Regions from separate parts of the Homo sapiens genome. Here all the other regions are linked to region 1. Evidence: promoter capture Hi-C in 16 types of primary human blood cells and fetal thymus (Javierre and others, 2016). All regions are on one chromosome and are shown on one strand. The core of a region is centred on a gene start or on the middle of the fragment in contact, and the rest is flanking DNA. Distances in the headings are between cores, read along the strand shown. Region 1 holds the start of RPS21 (ribosomal protein S21). Region 2 overlaps NTSR1 (neurotensin receptor 1). Region 3 overlaps TAF4 (TATA-box binding protein associated factor 4). Region 4 holds the start of LSM14B (LSM family member 14B).

What was found. Contacts are between HindIII fragments. The CHiCAGO score rates a contact against its expected background, and 5 or more counts as called.
Region 2: a fragment that was not itself captured here is called in contact with the fragment with the promoter of RPS21 in region 1 in 1 of 17 cell types (M2 macrophages); the score reaches 5.1 in M2 macrophages.
Region 3: a contact is called between a fragment that was not itself captured here and the fragment with the promoter of RPS21 in region 1, in 1 of 17 cell types (neutrophils). The highest score is 5.1, in neutrophils.
Region 4: a contact is called between the fragment with the promoter of LSM14B here and the fragment with the promoter of RPS21 in region 1, in 1 of 17 cell types (naive CD4 T cells). The highest score is 5.9, in naive CD4 T cells.

What each region holds. Positions count from the first base shown.
Region 1 is chr20:62,384,867-62,388,352 of GRCh38, forward strand. It overlaps RPS21 (ribosomal protein S21), which reads left to right and starts at 2,237. Exons shown (of 6, transcript NM_001024.4): 1 at 2,237-2,270; 2 at 2,455-2,522; 3 at 2,745-2,808; 4 at 2,977-3,048; 5 at 3,443-3,486. The coding sequence starts at 2,473. It overlaps RPS21-DT (RPS21 divergent transcript), which reads right to left and starts at 2,123. Exons shown (of 1, transcript NR_186459.1): 1 at 1,437-2,123. RefSeq lists enhancers at 1,375-1,424, 1,703-2,394, 2,395-3,086 and silencers at 1,775-1,894, 2,325-2,514. The HindIII fragment of the contact is 6,470 bases long and covers 1-3,486 here.
Region 2 is chr20:62,719,863-62,723,348 of GRCh38, forward strand. The region is part of intron 1 of NTSR1 (neurotensin receptor 1); the gene reads left to right. Among named protein-coding and RNA genes, the nearest start is that of NTSR1, 13 kb to the left of the region's middle. RefSeq lists a silencer at 1,512-1,704. The HindIII fragment of the contact is 3,085 bases long and covers 74-3,158 here.
Region 3 is chr20:62,058,307-62,061,792 of GRCh38, forward strand. The region is part of intron 1 of TAF4 (TATA-box binding protein associated factor 4); the gene reads right to left. Among named protein-coding and RNA genes, the nearest start is that of MIR3195, 4.8 kb to the right of the region's middle. The HindIII fragment of the contact is 354 bases long and covers 1,606-1,959 here.
Region 4 is chr20:62,120,621-62,124,106 of GRCh38, forward strand. LSM14B (LSM family member 14B) reads left to right here and starts at 1,855. Exons shown (of 9, transcript NM_144703.3): 1 at 1,855-2,173. The coding sequence starts at 2,047. It overlaps LOC105372706 (a long non-coding RNA gene), which reads right to left and starts at 3,064. Exons shown (of 3, transcript XR_936963.2): 1 at 2,836-3,064. RefSeq lists silencers at 914-2,003, 2,164-2,703 and enhancers at 1,367-2,054, 2,055-2,743, 2,744-3,431. The HindIII fragment of the contact is 16,298 bases long and covers 1-3,486 here.

The DNA of each region.
Region 1 (3,486 bases), core at 987-3,486:
AGGCCAAGGCGGGCAGATCACGAGGTCAGGAGTTAAAGACCAGCCTGGCCAACATGGTGAAACCCCATCTCTACTAAAAATACAAAAATTAGCCAGGCGTGGTAGCAGACCCCTGTAATCCCAGCTACTCTGGAGGCTGAGGCAGGAGAATCGCTTGAACCTGGGAGGTGGAGGTTGCAGTGAGCCAAGACCGCACCACTGCACTCCAGCCTGGGAGACAGAGCAAGACTCCGTCTCAAACAAACAAACAAACAAACAAACAAACAAACAAAAACTAAGAATAGAGCTGCCATAAATAAAGCAATCCCACTGCTGGGCATATACCCAAAAGAAAGGAAATCAGTATATGAAAGAGATACCTGGCCGGGTGTGGTGGCTCATGCCTGTAGTCCCAGCTACTGAGGAGGCTGAGGCAGGAGAATCACTTGAACTCTGGGGGCAGAAGTTGCAGTGAGCCGAGATCGCACCACTGCACTCCAGCCTGGGTGACAGAGCGAGACTTTGTCTCAAAAAAAAAAGAAAGAAAGGAAGAGATACATGTGCTACGATGTTTATCACAGCACTATTATTTGTGGGAGCTAAAAATTAAAACAATTGAATTTGTGGAGACAGACAGTAGAAAGATGGTTACCAGAGGCTGGGAAGGGTAGAACAGTGGGAGGAGGGGGGCAAATGGGGATGGTTAATGGGTATAAAAAGACAGAAAGAATAAGACCTAGTGTTTGATAGCACAACAGGGTGTCTACAGTCAATAATGATTTAATTGCACATTTTAAAATGACTAAAAGAGTATAGTATTGGATTATTTGTAACGCAAAGGATAAATGCTTGAGGTGATGGATGCTCCATATACCCCATGTGATTACTACGCACTGCATGCCGGTATGAAAATATCTCATGTGCCCCATAAATGTACACACCCACTATGTACCCAAAAAATTAAACATAAAAAAACTTTTTTTTTTTGAGACGCAGTCTTGCTCTGTCGCCCAGGCTGGAGTGCAGTGGCGGGATCTCAGCTCACTACAAGCTCCGCCTCCCGGGTTCACGCCATTCTCCTGCCTCAGCCTTCCGAGTAGCTGGGACTACAGGCGCCTGCCACCACGCCCAGCTAATTTTTTGTATTTTTAGTAGAGATGGGGTTTCACCATGTTGGCCAGACGGGTCTCGAACTCCTGACCTCAGGTGATCCACCCACCTCCGCCCAAAGCGCTGGGATTACAGGCCTGAGCCACCGCACCTGGCCACTGAGTCTTAAGTTTTCTGAGGCTAGTTCTACATCCTAGGATCATGTCCCCCGCCCAGAGAAGACCCCAACATAGGCCGCGCTGCTCCCTCCGTCTACCGGTTTGGAGCTTCTCCTGGCAACAGGGTTCAGGCTACTAACAAGGCCTTCCTCAAGACCCCACCCATAACCAACGACCATACTTCGTGGGTCCATCTTTGTAACATCTTTACTTCCTTGGAGCAAATTCCCAGGAATGGGTTTTCGGGGTCCAAGGGTATGCACCTCTAGCACTACGACAAACGCGGCCAACACGCTTCAGGGAAACGGTGCCCCAGTTTGCATTCTGCTTCCCCTGCCCTGCCCTGGGGGTCTGACTGGTGAAACATGGGATGGCAGAGTGGTCGGGTGTTTCAGATTCCACGGTGGGCCGGGGTCTTTTCCTACCCTCGGGAGCCGTCTGAATTTCTCCTCTGCCGAGTTCCTGCGGGTGTCCTTCGCCCACCGGCCCGGGGGAGTGAGTAGCAGGCACCAGGTGAGCAGGCCTCCGCTCGCAGCGGCTACGTGCACGGGCAGGAGCACCGCCCCACGCCCCAGGTGGCCGCAGGGTGAGGGGACCGGAGGGCGGGAGGCGCACAATGGGGGGCACGCCCGTATCTCTAGCCCGGCCGGCAGCGGGCAGCGAGGCTCAGTCCTCGCCCCTTCTCCCAGCTGCTATTCGGGGCTCCCGAGGCGCTCAGAGGGGTCGACTGCGTCCGTGGGGCACAACCCAGGGGCCAGGCTAAGACGCCACACACGGCAACGACCCTCAACGACAACGACCCCCACGACGCCCCGCGCCCCAGGGCCAGCAGGCTGGGGTCCGAGAACCTCCTTGCCGGAAGCGGAAGTGCGTCACGGCGACGGCCGGCAAGCACGCACCGCGCAGACTCGCTGTGGTGGCGTGACCCGGAAGCGCTCGCCGAGGCCCCTCCTTGCCCGCCGATATCTCTGCCGGGTGACTAGCTGCTTCCTTTCTCTCTCGCGCGCGGTGTGGTGGCAGCAGGTGTGGCGCGCGGCGCGGGCTTCGGGCTCAGGGCTGGGGCTGGGGCGGGAGTGGGGGCTTGGACGCGGGGGACGGGGTGCGGGGTGCTGGGTGCGGCTGGGGCCGTGACCCTAGGGGCCGGTTTGCGCCGGGAGCCGGGGCACGGTTCCGGCCGTACTCACGGCGCCGCGCGGTGACTCCCCAGGCGCAGCCCAGCCTCGAAATGCAGAACGACGCCGGCGAGTTCGTGGACCTGTACGTGCCGCGGAAATGGTAAGCGCCCCCCACATGCCTCTCTTCCGTCCTTACCTAACCACCACGTCCCCTCGCCTGCCCTTGTTCCCCCACACCCCTCCCGTCCTTACCTCGTCACGTCCCTAACTTGTCCTGCCCCCGACGTTACTCTTTTCCATTCATATACCCCCAACCTCCCTCGTCCCCTCTTTCATTCTTACCGCCCAAGTCCCCTCTGCTCACTGCGCCCTTTCTCCACAGCTCCGCTAGCAATCGCATCATCGGTGCCAAGGACCACGCATCCATCCAGATGAACGTGGCCGAGGTGAGCTGGGAGCCCGGGAGGCGGGAAGGTTGTGATATATGTGCGGGAAAGGCAGGCTGTCCCATTGTGGAGGAGCCCCTGGGGTGAAGGTACAGGCAGAGGCTGGCTTTGAGGATTGGTGTTTCCCAAACCTGGGGGAGTGGTTTGTGACCCTTCTTCTCTTTCTAGGTTGACAAGGTCACAGGCAGGTTTAATGGCCAGTTTAAAACTTATGCTATCTGCGGGGCCATTCGTAGGATGGTGAGTGTTTCCCTGGGCTTTGCTCATCACTTCGGGACATCGTGGACTTTACCGTGCGCATTGGAGTGTGTGATGGTGCCTGAGTAGATCTGCTGGCAGAGTAGTTTGAGCCAGCTGGACTGGGCTGGCCGCCTGCCGCTTCTTGAGGGTGGAAGAGGGGTGCTCTGAGAAGACACTCAGGCAGCAGACTCTGCCTCTCACTAGGAGGTGCCCCCCCGACCCCGCTCCACCATAGTCAGGCTGCAGGCTGCCCCGGGAGAGGTGGCTCCCCTTCTGCGCCTGTCTCCATTCGCTCAGCGGGGGAGAGACGTGGGCTGGTGGCACAGCTGACCTTCTGCCATCTCAGGCAGCCGGAGTGGAAATATTCTTAGTGTGCTTTTTTTTTTTTCTTAAGGGTGAGTCAGATGATTCCATTCTCCGATTGGCCAAGGCCGATGG
Region 2 (3,486 bases), core at 366-2,865, 330 kb after region 1:
GAGCTGGGAGGTTCTTGTTCCTTTTGTGTTTTCTGTCAGAGGTTGTGTAGAATTGGCATGATTTCCTCTTTAAAGCTTTGGTAGATTGTCCAGCAAAACCATCCGGGCCTGGAGTTTTGTAGGAAGGTTTTTATAAATTCAATTCTTTTCAAAGAAACCAGGTGTAGTGGTTCAGGCCTGTAATCCCAGCACCGTGGGAGGCCAAGGAGGGTGGATCACCTGAGGTCAGGAGTTTGAGACCAGCCTGGCCAACAGGATGAAACCCTGTCTCTACTAAAAATACAAAACTTAGCCAGGTGTGGTGGTGGGCACCTGTAGTCCTGGCAACTCGGGAGGCTAAGGCAGGAGAATCGCTTTAACTCGGGAGGTGGAGGTTGCAATGAACCGAGATCACGCCACTGCACACCAGCCTAGGTGACAGAGCGAGACTCCATCTCACAAGACAAATTATTTTAAAAGATAAAGGAATATTCAGGTTATATATTTCTCCTTGAGTAAGTGTTAGTAATTTGTATCTTTTGAGGAATTGGTCCATATAATCTATTTTGTCAAATTTTAGAGCATAGATTTATTTGTGGTATTCTGTCATCATCCTTTTAATGTCTGTGGGGTCAGTAATAGTGTCTCCTTGTTCATTTCTAATATTGGTAATCTGTGACTTCTCTCTTTTCTCCTTGGGCAATATGGCTAGGATTTTATTAACATTATTGTTCTTTTTCAAGAATGAGCTTTTGATTTCATTGATTTTTTTTCTATTGTCTTTTAGCTTTCAATTTTATTTATTTATATTTCTTTCTTCATTTCCTTTTTCTGCTTGCTTTGGGTTTAATTTGCTCTTCTTTTCCTAGATTTCCTAAGGTGGGAGCTTGGATTATTGATTTAAGATCTTTATTCTTTTCTAACATAAACATGAAATGCTATAAACATCCTCCTAATTAATGCTTTAGTGGCATCTCAAAATTTTTGAACATTGTATTCTAATTTAGATCAAAATTTTTTTATATCTTGAGATTCCCTCTTTAACCTTTGTGTTATTTACAAATGTGTTGTTTAGTTTCCAAATGTTTGGGATTTTCCAGATATTACTTTTTTATCCATTTCTAATTTAACCCTATTATGTTTAGAGAACAAATGTGCATGATTTAAATTCCTAATTTTGTGAATGCTTGTTTCATGGTTTAGGATAATGGTCTATTCTGGTGAATGTCACATGCACACTTGAGCAGAATGTGCTGTGCTATCATTGCTGGGTATATTATTCTATGAAGGTCAATTTGTTGGATAGTGTTATAGTATTTAATTCTAGAATTTTTATTGGTTCTTTTAATATAGTTTCTTTTTGTCTTTTAAGAACTTTCATTTTTCCATTTATTTCAAGAGAGTTACCTTTACCTCAAGGAGCATGGTTGTAATGCCTGCTTTAAAGTCTTTGTCTGGTAAATCCATCCTCTGGGTCATCTTGAGGGTGGCATATATTGATTCTCTTTTCCTTGAGAGTTAGTCCCATTTCCATGGTTCTTTTTCTGTTAAGTAATTTTGAATTAATTCCTGAACATTTTGAATTTTGTTGTGGTTCTTTGGGTTATGTTAGAATCCTCTGGAGAGGCAGCCCGCTTGGTCAGAGCTGCCGCTTTTGTCTCACTGTCTGTCCGTGGTGGTTCCAATGCAGGCCTGTTTTTGGGTCTTTTGCTGTTCAGCCATTCCACATGAAAGTGCCATTCAGGGGCAGGCTTAGATCTTGGAGATCGTTTATATCACAGCGGTTTTCAAGCCCTTAACTATAATTGTTTAGGTGTGTTCCTCATATGTGGTAACTCCAGGACTTGTGTTGACTCATACACAGAACTGGGGGATCCCCTTGTTCAGCTCTCACCTCTCTGAGATTTCCTGTCACACTCTCTAGTTTCCAGGGATCCTTTCCTTAGGCCTCCAGCCAGGAAGCCCGAGTATTCCATGTTATGTCCTCTGCTGACTTCTTTAGATCCACTTCTCTGTATTTGCTCTTGGAATGGTTGCCCTGGAATATCAGTATGCCTCTGAGTGGACTCTGAGTGCTCAGAGTCTGATCAGATTCATATCATGCTGATTTACACCTGACACCTCCTGCTTCTCACTTCCACCTTGATGTCTGTTTCAATGGACTCATTTTTTTCTTGTCAATGGGTCACATTTTACTTTCTTTGCATATCTAGTAATTTTTAACCTATACTAGACCTTGTAGATGACACATTAAAGAGACTGGATTGTGTTGTGTTCCTTTGGAGAGGGTTGATTCTTATTTTAGCAGGCAGTTCAGTGGCAGACTCGTCATCTTGAACTTGGGTCGGCTTGGTTTCATGCTTAGTTGAGTAAACAACTACGGAAAGCCCAAGGCATTTTCCAATATCCCTTCTCACTTGGAAGAACTCAGTGGGCACCTTCAGCCTCCTCTGTGGATTCTGTCTTAGCTGGGGTGGGTTTGGAGGCCTTGCTCTAGGGCTTCTCCATCCTCCTGTGTCATGGGCTTCCTGGCATCTCTGTTGGCTGCTTCATGTGTTAATGAGACTTCTTCCCCCTAGCTCTGCCAGGATGCCAGCCACCCTCTGATAAGCCTTTCGTGGCCTTGTTCTGTACACGCTGGGCCAGCACAGATCCCACAGGAAAGCCGGTGTAGGCTTCTGAGGACCGTCACCATGCAGTCCCCCTCTCTAGCACCTGGCTCTGCAGATGTAGCCACAGCCACAGCCCGCATCTCTGATCTCTGCCTCCTTGGCTCAGATAGTAACGTTCTGCCCGGACCTCAGCTCTTACGTCTCCATCAGGAAACTGTCCCCAAACAGAGGCATGGTGATGATGGGCTCACCTTGTGAGTATCCATGCCCTTAGGGACCACAGTCCTGAGGTTTGTCCAGGGTCTGAAAACAACTGCCTGATACATCGTGTACAATTTTATAGTTGTTTATGGCAGGAGAGCTAGTCCAGTACCCCTGGCGAAAGTCATCCGTAGATTTTAAACACTGCCTACTTTCAAAAAGATCTGAGGCAGCTTATGATAAAAGGCTTGGGCTCAAAGGAATTATTAAAACAATGTTACAAAAGAACACAGAACAAAGAAATAGAGTTATCCAAGAAACATGAGTCTGAGGACAGCCACTGTGTTTGAGTAAATCTTACACTGAAGCTTATGAAAAAGAGCAACATTATTTGGACTTAAACATTTTTAGCCTGTTGTCTGTGAAAAGGTGAACTTACTGTAAATTTCAGTAACTCTCCTTTGACATATTTAAAGGTTAAGAGAATTATTTCAAGAGCCTTGTTTTCTTATAATTCAAACACGGTTCCTCTCCTTAAAAACTCACACTTCCAGGCTCTCAGCATTCAGAGAGTACGGGAGCTGTTTGGGAATCATTCCTGCTTGGGCATCACTCAATTGTAACTGCTCACAACAGCCGTGGGATGCTGCTGTCTGGGGTGTCACTTCCCAGTTGATTGGCAGAATCACGAAGC
Region 3 (3,486 bases), core at 533-3,032, 330 kb before region 1:
GGCCACAGACAATGGGGCTCGGGGGGCCAACCTCAGCAAGACCTCAGGAAGGACGGACACAGGTCTACACACCAGGCCACAGACAATGGGGCTCGGGGGGCCAACCTCAGCAAGACCTCAGGAAGGACGGACACAGGTCTACACACCAGGCCACAGACAATGGGGCTCGGGGGCCAACCTCAGCAAGACCTCAGGAAGGACGGACACAGGTCTACACACCAGGCCACAGACAATGGGGCTCGGGGGCCAACCTCAGCAAGACCTCAGGAAGGACGGACACAGGTCTACACACCAGGCCACAGACAATGGGGCTCGGGGGGCCAACCTCAGCAAGACCTCAGGAAGGACGGACACAGGCCTACACACCAGGCCACAGACAATGGGGCTCGGGGGGCCAACCTCAGCAAGACCTCAGGAAGGACGGACACAGGCCTACACACCAGGCCACAGACAATGGGGCTCGGGGGCCAACCTCAGCAAGACCTCAGGAAGGACGGACACAGGTCTACACACCAGGCCACAGACAATGGGGCTCGGGGGCCAACCTCAGCAAGACCTCAGGAAGGACGGACACAGGTCTACACACCAGGCCACAGACAATGGGGCTCGGGGGCCAACCTCAGCAAGACCTCAGGAAGGACGGACACAGGTCTACACACCAGGCCACAGACAATGGGGCTCGGGGGGCCAACCTCTCCAGTCCCCAAACACAGTCCCCAACAGACAACTTCTCCTGTCCCCACATGCGGCTCCCAACAAACAATTTCTCCTGCCCTCACACGCGGTTCCCAACGACAACTTCTGCTCCACAACATGACACCCACGGTGGGAGAAGCTGGGGGCACTTCACTACATCATCCTGCACACTGCAGCATGGCCTGCTCCAGGCAGAAGGCAGGCCTGGAGAAGAGCCTGGGACCACCGCGGACTGACCAACAGCGGACACCAGGTACTTTCTCAAATGGGAGAGGGGCCTCATGGTGGACAACATGTATCTCTTTGTTTTTCGAAAGCTGTACATCTTTGGTGCAAATGTTCATTTGAGATATGTAAAAATCAAAAGTTTTCACTCAAAACTTTCATGGTCCAACCATGGAAATATTAAGCACCCCATTTTCGAACATAACTTGACAGCACTTATTCTACTTCATTATTCCACGCAAGAATTGGAAAGAACAGCTGTGTACGTGTTTGCAGCTGACACCACAATGCCATAGCAACCGCAGGCCCACCTGGAAGCAGAAGCGTCCAGGAAGCCCAGGTGCACAGCACTCGGCACAGAAGGGCCTGCAGCCAAAAGCCCCCTTTATTTAACTGCTTTATTGCTATCAAAGGCCTGATTAAGTAAACGCCCCCATCACGCTGCCTGAGCCGGGCACCACAGGTGAACACCCTAAACAGCAACTGTTTCCTGGATGATCGAGGGCTTGGAGGTTCCTACTGAGCACCATGAAGAAGAAAAGCAAAGCACTTCGGGAACCCTGCAAATTACCCCAAATCTCAGGCAAGCTTCTCCAGAGCCCTGTTACACCTCTGCTTCAAGATCCTCAAACACAGCTGCTAATTATGCTTTGATCAACTCACTTACAACCAACAATTTATAAAAGCTTTCTTCAAATTTATCCCTTAAGTGGAAGAAAACTCACATTATACAGTAGAAAAGGCTTTGGAGGTAGAACAGGAACTGTCTCCATTCCACTCTGATTTCGGGATGCGGACACGCCCACCAGTCTGTTCTGCTGAGCCCGGTCTGTGCTGCTCTGACCAGACGCCGCCTCCCGGCCTCCCTGTGCTGATGTCTAAGGGGCAACTTCCACAGCACACCGGGGAGCCCGGGGGCAGTCCTGGAAGCCAGGGTGGCTCTGCTCTCTGCCCTGGGAGAAGGCCAACTTCCCAGGCGCCCGGGGCCTGCCTCAGGTCCATTTGCCACAGAAGCAAGCGGGACACCCTCTCCTACAAAGCTTCTCACAGGCCCTAAGAACCAGGGCAACCGTAACGAACTTCAAACGTCATCCTCTGTTCAAACTCATAGACCTCTGCTGTGAATGCAGTGCTCGGGCACAGTAAGCAGTGAGGAGAGAGGCTCCTAAGAGCGTCACAGGACCCCGACTCCTGGCTGCCACTAAGCCATGAGGGTCACCAGCTCTGAGACACCAAAGGCAGGTGAGGTCCATCCCAACCTGTCACCAAGATGACTCTGTTCATCCCGAAGGCGATGGTGACGACCCCAGCCGCGGGGCAGGGGGCAGGGAGGAAGGGAAGACCCAGAGCGGCGCCCTTGCCCTATGCTAGGCAGAGCTGTCCAGGGCTGTCTTTACACAGCTCCCCAAAAGTTCTTTTTCTTTGTTCTTTTCAAATGTCACTCCTACCTGAGTATGTCAAAAGAAACACCAGATTAAGGCCTCTAGCCTAAAGTGAGCCCTCCACCCAGGTCCAGGCCTCCAAAGGCCACTGCAACCCTCCCCTATGTTGGCAACCACCGCCCCAGGGTGACCCACCTCAGACCTCGGTAACTTCCCCATTGACAGAACCAGTCAGCTGCCACACCAAACACCTCAGTCACTGAGAAAACATCCAGTCTGGATTAATGTGTGAAAATCAGTGAAAAATGAGGGGAACTGGGAGAGTTTGGAATAGTGAGCGCCACCTGACAGCTATGTTATCTGGCCCAACCTGACAGAATTCACATTCTTCACCAAAAGGGCAACCCCACTTTACAGCTGGGTAAGCCAAGGCTCCGAGGAACAACATATTCCTCCCAGGTCAAACGGCAACAGGGCCCTCAAGTCACAAAATCTAAACTTTTAGGAATGTCCCTTGTGCCAGAGCACTGGCTGCCACCACTGGCCACCAGAACTCACAGCTCCTGCAACCTCAGGGGTGGCCGTCTGCATGCCGCCACCCAGCATGGGCCTGGACTCGCCAAATCCAACCCGTCCCAACAGCGCGATTAAGGGCTAGTGGACATTTTCCCCCTTTCCCCACAGATGGGAACCAATGCTCCAGACAGCACCCACAGACACACATTCACCTGGGAGTACTCATCCTAAAACATGCAGCAAGCACACGCCCCCTAGGCCAAGGGATCAAGGCCCATGGTGAGAAAGTGCTTTTCTGTCCTGGAATGGGAATCTACACTTGGGCCAAATCTTAGAGCAAAAGGAGAGTAAATTCTGCATGAAAGCACAATAGACCAAGATACACTGAAGAAAATGTGAATTTGCCAGGCCAAAAGATAACCTTTAGAAATGAGCTTCTTTACCTTACACCGATCTGAAAAGATCTCTCAACAATTTACCAACATGCTAATGTGGGTGTCAAATCACCTTTTTCTTCTTTCAGCTGTAATCACAACCTGACTATGACGTTATGACTATCCTAAGCTGTACATAACTAGTGCTTTTCCGTGATCTTGGGACAACTGTGTCATCTGCAACAATCTCACTAAAGACTGAGTTTTCTCATTTTTCCTCAGTGAATAAAATC
Region 4 (3,486 bases), core at 605-3,104, 260 kb before region 1:
TCAAATGGGGAGTCACAGCGTCTACCCTGCAGGGCAGGTAAGATCTTCTTATTATAGTCAGAAACACATTCTAGGTCCTTACCAAGTCCACACTTACACAAACAGGTGAATTAAATATTTCACAAAATAATACTTACTTTCACCATGCGAGATACTATTATTTTCTTTTTTTCCTTTAGAAATAGGGTCTTGCTGCCACCCCTGCGTGCAGTAGTCCAATCACAGCTCATTGCAGCCTCCAACTCCTGGGCTCAAGTGATCCTCCCGCCTCTGCCTCCACCTCCCCAGGAGCTGGAACTACAAGTATGTGCCCCCACACTCGCCCAATTTTTTTTAAAGTTTTTTTTTTTTTTGTAGAGATGGGGTCTCCATATGTCGCCCAGGCTGATCTCAAACTCCTGGCCTCCAGTGATCTTCCCGCTTCGGCCTCCCAGAGTGCTGAGATTACAGGCATGAGCCACCCACCACGCCATCTGATATCTTCTAGCTTATTCTATTTCATTTTTATTATTATTTTTCTTGAGACGGGGTCTAGCTCTGTCGCCCAGGCTGGAATGCAGTGGTGAGATCTCTGCTGACTGCAATCTTCACGTCTCAGGCTCAAGCGATTCTCCTGCCTCAGACTCCCGAGTAGCTGGGGATTACACGTGTCTGTCACCACGCCCGGCTAGTTTTTTTGTATTTTTAGAGTAGAGACAGGGTTTCACCATTTTGCCCAGGCTGGTCTTGAACTCCTCACCTCAAGTGATCCGCCCGCCTCCGCCTCCCAAAGTGTTGGGATTACAGGCGTGAGCCACCGCGCCCAGCCTATTGCATTTTTATAGTCACCACCCACTACTTTTTTTTTCCAGGACCCAATATTGGTCCGTGATCTGATGATGTTCACGGTCAAGACGGAAGCAAAAAAAGCACACACCGCGCGCCCTCGGTCACTAATCACGCGGAGTATACGCGAGGAGGGCCCGCAGCTAAGCGACGGCGGGCGGCCGAGCTTCCTCCACGGCCGGGGAGGTGGGCAAGGCCTCCGGGCCGCAGCCCCGGGTACGAGCGGAGGCTCCGAGGCCCCCGGTAGCCAGTCAGAATTTATTTTAAGGGAAATGGAAAGCTGCGGCAGGCTTTGGGAGGAGGGGCAGGATTAAAAGAGAAAGTGTGCTCAGCATGTTATATTTAGAGGCTGCCACGCCGGAAGCGCCGCCTTCCCGGGAGCTGCCGCCGCGCCCGCCCCCCGCCGGCACCTGGGCACTGGGGCGGGAGTCCCGGGGCTGCCCGGGAACACCCGGCGCCCAGGGCCTCCGCCACTCCCCGGTCCCCCATGAGGGTGAGGGCTATAGGCGCATCTGGCCCAAGATAGGGGAGTCGTCCGGACCCCACTTCTGTAGGAGGGGAAACTGAGGCCAAGGGGGCAAAGCCCCCGTGTTCGCGGCGCCCAGGGTCCGGGGCGGCGCCGGCACGCGCGCGGGCGGGGCCTGGCGCTCCTCCCCGGTCCCGCCCACTGAGCGTGCAAACCGCAGCCGCCCGCCCACGCGCACGCGCGCTCCTCCCGGGCCGCTTCCCACCCCTCCCCCCGCCCGCTCAGTCTCGTGCTCCCAGCTCCGCGAGGGGCCCGCCGGGAGCCGGCCGAGGGTGGGGCGGATCGCCGGGGAGACCCGCCCCCGGCCAGCGGCGCCTTGCTGCGCAGGAACGACGCGAGGGCCCGCCCCCCAGCTGGCGGCCCGGCCATATTTAAAGGACGGCGGGCGCGGCGAGCCAATGGGCGGCGAGCGTGAAGGGGCGGTGCGTGGCGGTGCGTGGCGGCGCGAGGCCCCGGATGTGGCTGCGGCGGCCCCTCCTCCCCCGCGCTCCTCTCAGAGCCCCAGTCGCGCGCCCCTTCTTGGTTCGCTCGGTGCCCGCGCAGGCCCCTCGGGCGGTGGCGAGGAGGCGCCCAGGCGGAGGCGGCGGCGGGCGGAGGAGCGCAGGAGCGGGCGGCCAGGCCACCGCGCGGCGGCGGAGCGGGCCGCGGCCCGGCGCTCCTTCCCCACCGCGGCCCGACGCACCCCGGCCGCCGCCATGAGCGGCTCCTCAGGCACCCCGTATCTGGGCAGCAAGATCAGCCTCATCTCCAAGGCGCAGATCCGCTACGAGGGCATTCTCTACACCATCGACACCGACAACTCCACCGTGGCGCTCGCCAAAGGTAGCGGCCGCCGCCCGCCCGAGCCCGCTGACCCCCGTCCGCCAACAGCCCCGGCCTGCGGTGCCCTCCCCGCCCCGGGGCGCCCCGGAGCCTGGCGCCCAGACCCCGCCCAGAACCCACCCAGGGCACACCCGGCCCGAGATCCCCTGCCCGCGCCTTCACCCCGGACGCCCCCGAGGCGCCCCCTTCCCGCGCGCCACCCTCCCCCAGCGTAGCCGGCCGCACAATGGTCTCCCTGGGCTCCCAGGGCGGCGGGATTGTGCGCGGGCGCCCGGCGGTGTTTGGTGAGGGGCGGGCCCGGCCCCCGCGGTGCCGCCCCCTCGGCCGCCCAGCCCACCTCTGCAGGTGCCAGCTCCGAGGAGCAGGGCGGCTCCCGTCAGCGGGCCTCCTCCCCGCCAGCCTGGGGGGATCCCTGCGGGGGAGCCTCGAGGTCGGGTGGCGGGGCCAGTGTCCCGGCGTCTCCCGAAGGCTGGGGGTGGGGTCACAACACGCGAATCCTGCAAGCCTTTCTGGAACTTATTAGACAGCTGGGGCCTTGATCCTGAACAAATACCGCGTCCTAATGCGGCCTCCTGCCAAGGCAGAAGCATCCGTTGGCAGCCAGATGCCCCGGTTTAAACGGTTCTCCTGCTCTATCCTGACCTTCCCACTGTGGGGCTTACCTTTTGGTGACAGCCGCCTGTGGGTGCTCGTAACCGGCTGTGGCCGCTGGAGGACTTACAGGAGGGGGGCTCTTTAGAGTCAGAATCTCTGAGGTTGTTGAGGCAGCGGGTGGTCCAGAGTTTCTTTGTCTTCATCACCCAGAGAAGACGGGGAGTGCACTTCCCCTGCCTCTCAGAGAAAAGTGCCCGTGGAGCCACGTCTGCCTAAGCCCGTGTGTGTGCTGGATCTGGCGCTAGGCTCCCAGGGGTTCTTGAAGTGTCTAGACGCGTCTGAAACGCTGCTTAGGTCACAGGGAACTTCATGTGTAGAAGAACGCACTCATTCCAAACAGGGAGTGTCTCCTTTTGAAGCCCGTCTCCTGCGTGGCTTCAGGAGCTTGTTGAGTATGCCAGGGCTATGCACTCACTTGCAGCCATGGAACCTCACTACACTTATTACAGGAGAGCCCAGTTAGAGAAGCTGAGGCCCAGAGTAGGCCCAGGAGTTAGCAGGAGTTGTGTCTTACCAGTTAGAGGCTGCTGTCCCACCCACCTCTGCCCCTAGAGGCTTGCTAGAAAGAGACTTGGGCGCTCCTGGAAGCCTGCTGGTTAGGGGTTAGTAGACTCAATTCCTTATAGATGCGGAAGCCGGGGTCAGAGGTCCATAATCCT